2 separate regions of the Homo sapiens genome follow, and region 2 is linked to region 1. Evidence: promoter capture Hi-C in human tissues and cell types (Jung and others, 2019). All regions are on one chromosome and are shown on one strand. Each heading gives the region's core, a stretch centred on a gene start or on the middle of the fragment in contact. The rest is flanking DNA. Distances are from core to core; before and after follow the strand shown. Region 1 holds the start of TNFRSF11B (TNF receptor superfamily member 11b). Region 2 has its middle 160 kb from the start of SAMD12.

What was found. The method cuts DNA at HindIII sites, captures the fragments that hold promoters and counts their contacts. A contact is called where the count stands out against the background at its distance.
Region 2: a fragment that was not itself captured here is called in contact with the fragment with the promoter of TNFRSF11B in region 1 in 2 of the 25 tissues and cell types used here (dorsolateral prefrontal cortex and spleen).

What each region holds. Positions count from the first base shown.
Region 1 is chr8:118,950,432-118,953,367 of GRCh38, reverse strand. TNFRSF11B (TNF receptor superfamily member 11b) reads left to right here and starts at 1,483. Exons shown (of 5, transcript NM_002546.4): 1 at 1,483-1,576. The coding sequence starts at 1,547. It also overlaps a transcript of COLEC10 not described here. The HindIII fragment of the contact is 2,925 bases long and covers 1-1,842 here.
Region 2 is chr8:118,776,593-118,779,528 of GRCh38, reverse strand. No RefSeq gene overlaps it. Among named protein-coding and RNA genes, the nearest start is that of SAMD12, 160 kb to the right of the region's middle. The HindIII fragment of the contact is 3,819 bases long and covers 1-2,936 here.

The sequences.
Region 1 (2,936 bases), core at 234-2,733:
TCCCATGGCAAGTCTAAGTGTTGATATCTCAGGTTGCAGATGTCAAAACTACGATTCAAAATACAAGGAGTGATTTGGAGTCATACAATTTTGTCCACACTCACTGAGCTACATTTATTCACTAGTTCACTTAAGAAACCAGCATGCTGTTACATTCTGGCCCTTGAGGGACAAAGCTGAATGACACCCCGTCTTCTGTAATTTGCAGGATGGAACAGTCTGTGGATCCACTTTGAACTCGTGGTGGAAGGATGTCCCTTGGAAGGGGCAGATGCTCTGATCCTGGTAAGCCATCCTTGCTCCCCAGGGGTCCCCTCTCCTGATTCTTCACCTTCCTTCCCTTGAATCTGGTGAAAGGCAGTATTTGCCCTTCTCTGGAGACATATAACTTGAACACTTGGCCCTGATGGGGAAGCAGCTCTGCAGGGACTTTTTCAGCCATCTGTAAACAATTTCAGTGGCAACCCGCGAACTGTAATCCATGAATGGGACCACACTTTACAAGTCATCAAGTCTAACTTCTAGACCAGGGAATTAATGGGGGAGACAGCGAACCCTAGAGCAAAGTGCCAAACTTCTGTCGATAGCTTGAGGCTAGTGGAAAGACCTCGAGGAGGCTACTCCAGAAGTTCAGCGCGTAGGAAGCTCCGATACCAATAGCCCTTTGATGATGGTGGGGTTGGTGAAGGGAACAGTGCTCCGCAAGGTTATCCCTGCCCCAGGCAGTCCAATTTTCACTCTGCAGATTCTCTCTGGCTCTAACTACCCCAGATAACAAGGAGTGAATGCAGAATAGCACGGGCTTTAGGGCCAATCAGACATTAGTTAGAAAAATTCCTACTACATGGTTTATGTAAACTTGAAGATGAATGATTGCGAACTCCCCGAAAAGGGCTCAGACAATGCCATGCATAAAGAGGGGCCCTGTAATTTGAGGTTTCAGAACCCGAAGTGAAGGGGTCAGGCAGCCGGGTACGGCGGAAACTCACAGCTTTCGCCCAGCGAGAGGACAAAGGTCTGGGACACACTCCAACTGCGTCCGGATCTTGGCTGGATCGGACTCTCAGGGTGGAGGAGACACAAGCACAGCAGCTGCCCAGCGTGTGCCCAGCCCTCCCACCGCTGGTCCCGGCTGCCAGGAGGCTGGCCGCTGGCGGGAAGGGGCCGGGAAACCTCAGAGCCCCGCGGAGACAGCAGCCGCCTTGTTCCTCAGCCCGGTGGCTTTTTTTTCCCCTGCTCTCCCAGGGGCCAGACACCACCGCCCCACCCCTCACGCCCCACCTCCCTGGGGGATCCTTTCCGCCCCAGCCCTGAAAGCGTTAACCCTGGAGCTTTCTGCACACCCCCCGACCGCTCCCGCCCAAGCTTCCTAAAAAAGAAAGGTGCAAAGTTTGGTCCAGGATAGAAAAATGACTGATCAAAGGCAGGCGATACTTCCTGTTGCCGGGACGCTATATATAACGTGATGAGCGCACGGGCTGCGGAGACGCACCGGAGCGCTCGCCCAGCCGCCGCCTCCAAGCCCCTGAGGTTTCCGGGGACCACAATGAACAACTTGCTGTGCTGCGCGCTCGTGGTAAGTCCCTGGGCCAGCCGACGGGTGCCCGGCGCCTGGGGAGGCTGCTGCCACCTGGTCTCCCAACCTCCCAGCGGACCGGCGGGGAGAAGGCTCCACTCGCTCCCTCCCAGGAGAGGCTTGGGGTTAGGCTGGAGCAGGAAACCGCTTTCAAGTTATGCCATGCTTCCCCTAGGGTGTCCTTTTACGCTGCAAAGTTCCTGCTGACTTTATGGAAGACAGCAAGAGAGAGACAGACAGCGAGAGAGAGGGAGAGAGAGAGAGAGAGAGAAACTTGTTTGAAAGTTTTAGTCATTAACCTTCTGTCTTCATCTCAGAATATTAACGCCCTCATGTAGTCCATACTATCTTTGCTTAATGAACTTGAACTTTTATTATTAGTGGCAAAGAAGTGGTCCCTTAGATTCAGAGTAAGTTGGAAGAAGACGTTAGTCTTCTTAAAACCATTATAATTAGAATATGACATGATAGATTTTTCTAATGTAAATATTATGTGAAATTTTGAATAATTAGGAGAAAAGATCTCTCACACACACACTTCTTAACTGTGTAATGTTTTAATAAAATTTTATTGTTAAAATTATTTCACTTCTCAACTTCAATATACTGTGGAGAATATTGGCAGTATGTTATGTTCTAAAACATATCTAAAGAATTGAAGTTCACTAAATAGGGCTAAAAATTGTGTTTAAAATGTTATTTGGAAAAGAAAGGAATCTCTGTGACTTAGCTTTTTTTTTAAGCTTAGGTTTTGATCAAGTTAATAAGATTTGCATGTAGGTTTTTCTATGACCAATGACTTATTTTCTCTATGACACTAGAGTGTAGAGTACATCAAGATATGAATCAGACATTTATGCAAGGCTAGGAAAAGCCATATTTAAGCCACATATGTGTTTTGGATGTGTTTGAGTAAATGTTTGAACTTCAACCTCCAACCCACAAATAATGAATAGAAGGCTAGGTAGTCTTCTACTTAGTTCCTAGGATACAGAAACATAAATAAGTAAATAAATAGTAAAGACACTAAAGAACAGGTAAGTTGGATAGGAATCTACCCATAAGTATGTTAAAATATATATGTATGTATGTGTGTGTGTGTATAACTTCATCGCTAGAGATACTATGGAGTGCTTTTAAAAAAGTAAACCTTTATTAAAATATAACACATAGAGAATTGTGCAAGTGGTAAGTGCCTAATGCAGTTTTTCTAAGTGAGCACTTGTGAGCTAGCACACAGATCAAGAAATATATTATCGGCACCTCAAGAGCTTCCATCACTACTGTGTCTATGGCCAGAACAATCAGTATTCTGATTTGAACAACATAGATGAATTTTGCTTGTATTTGAACTTCCTAT
Region 2 (2,936 bases), core at 282-2,781, 170 kb after region 1:
TGCATTTTCCCTAGGTTTTATTCTGAAACCCTCAAGTGTTCAAGCCAATCATTTCCTGGGACCCTTGATATAATAGCATCTAGGATCTGTTAATAGGGTTTCTTTTTTTGTTTTTTGTTTTTTTTTAGTTCTGAGACAGAGGTAAATTCCTACCAGACCAATGGAGTTTTTACCCCTTAATTGCTTTTGTTGAATATTTCTCCCCAAGAGATAATAGAAGCTATAGTTAAGTTGAGTATTACTATGTTGAGAACATAAGAGGATCTTGGAGAAACTGGAGGATTTCCCCTGGGCATCTCCCATTGGTTAGACTGGTGTCAAGGAACTCAAATGTCCGAATGCTCCTAGAGTCTCCATATGCTGCCGTAAGTGGCATAGACTCTGAATTAGGTGGCCTTAATTCCATTGTCATTTCTCACACTAACCAGCACTTTAACCCAAGGGAAAGTTGAACTCCAAAGAAGGATTTTTTGTCTATATAGTAGGAGAGTTTAACTGGCATGTTCCCTTAGGATCCCCCTAGTGCTAGTCTATTACAATTTCTTTGGGTTGCCCTAGACCAAACTTGTCCAACCCTTGGCCCACAGGCCACATGTGGTCCAGGACAGCTTTGAATGTGGCCCAAGACAAATTTGTAAACTTTCTTAAAAATTGAGGGGTTTTTCTGCAATTTTTTTTTCATCATCAGCTATTGTTAGTGTTAGTGTATTTTACTTATGGCCCAAGACAGTTCTTCTAATGTGGCCCAAGGAAGCCAAAAGATTGGACACCCCTGCCCTAAACAAACATGAAATGAACCGCAAGATAACGGGTCAGGGCTGATCATCCTGAGGAAATAAAAGGGAAATGGATATTGGGGGTTCATTTAAAGGGTTTATGGCTGGATTTGTTCTCAGGCTTGTGGAAGACCTGAAATCTTTTGGCCAATTTTGTCTTTGGGTTAATGAGTCTCAAGTTAACTCGCTTTGTTGAGGACATAGCGGCAACTTATTTTCGTAAAAAGTGAAACCAAAACAGCCTTGACTGATGAGTCCAGGTCTTGGACCACTCCCTGGTCACTTTTTCACTACATTGTACCACCTAGATTTTCTCCTTGAGACCTAAAGGAAGGAGAACATAAAATAAAAGGCAGATGACTTGAAAATATTAAATGATTATTCCCAGCCTAAAGATTGTTCTAGAAGATGTTACACATAAAAATGCTTTCAACATGCAAAAAGTGTAAGAACTTAGAAAATTAATGTCTCTCTTAGAACTTCAAATTTAGCATTAAAATGGTTAGAGGATCCTATTGTAAAGATACCTATATACCTTGTCTTAAATTGGCATTTTCTAACTTATTTAACAAATGAATACACAGTTCACAAAAACCACCAATTATCATTGTATTTGGTTTGAAATATGTAGATATGACCACTCCTATAGACCTATGGAAAGACCATTTTATCTGCACTGTGAAGTAACCATCTCACTCATCTTAGCATGTGCCTATTTGTATCTCCTTTTTCCTAATTACCTTCATTTGGCACAGAATTGACTTTTAGTATAGGGTTCACAGTCTGATCTCAGCAATTTCTTTATTCCAGCTATTAACATGACACCTCTGTATCCCCAGAATTACCTGGCATAATTCTTGCATACCGTTGATACAGAAATATTTGTCATTGTTCTGTAACTTGTTTATATAAAGCTTTTCTGTCATTTTTCTGTGGGGACAAAAGCATGAAGTAAATGACCAAGCTGGTCACTTATATATGGGCAGCATTGATTTCTATCACATTGGTTTGTGGCATACTATCCAATGATGCACGCCTAACCTCTCATGCATTAGTGAGAGGAGTGCAGCCAATCTAAGCCTCCTTTAAGTGTAAGTCCAGGGAAAAGGAAGCCACAAGCCTCCTCCCTCAAAGCCAGTACACGCAAATCAAGGTCAGCAGTTGAAGGCCAAGGTCATCTGCTCAGTGACCTGTCTTTACCCTTGGGAGCTGGTTCAGTTCCAGATAAGCTCTGGTTGGGGAGGAATGAGTCCAGAGCAGAGTGGCCAGAGGGTCCACATGACATATAGTTGCTCCATGAAGTCCATCCCAGCTGTAGGCCATCTCTTGGATGTAACCCCAAATGACAAAGTCGTAGACAATAAGAAGTAGCAGATACACATGGGCACGGATAACAAGACTCAGCCATATGCATTTATTGATCAGAAGGAACAAAAACAATTTTTCGAGACAAAAATAAATGTACTTGAGATGTTGTAGGGACTCAACACATTGCATTATTATTCTTAATCATGGGCTCTGACTAAGAAGGTTTAGACTGCAGCTGGAGTATTGTGCTCAAAATCCCCCTGATCCCTCAATTTTATTATCTATGAAATGAAAATGAAATAGAATCATATAGAGGATATGGCAAAGTAGGCAGTTCCTAGCACAGAATAAGCATACATTAAACATTTTTTTTAATGGGACAGTGTGACAACCTAATCATTTTGTCACTGCTAGTTGGGATCTCTTTGAAGTTGACCTCCAGACTACCTCAATGTCTCTCTTGCCTTATTCCATTCTTCCATTTTCTTTTCTCCTCCTCTCCCTTCTCAATCCTCTCCTCTATTTATTCTCTGCCATCTCCTCTGATATACCAGGTCAACCATGATCTTTCAGATGCCTACTCCTTTCTTATAGATAGAGCTGGGGAGAGAGAGACAGAACAATGTCCCAGCTAGGGAAGGGGTTGGGAGACAGGTTCTCCCCACAGATATGCTGGTTAGAAGTGGTCTACTGGAGTGAAGGAAGGCGACAAGCTTTGGTGACAGTAGCTCACACACATTTCAGGAACTGAGGAACAATGGAGTAAATATCTCTTTTTTTAATCTCTTAATTCACCATGAAATTGCCAGGATCTAGCCCCACCACTGTCCTCTCGAACTTATATGCAGTTCC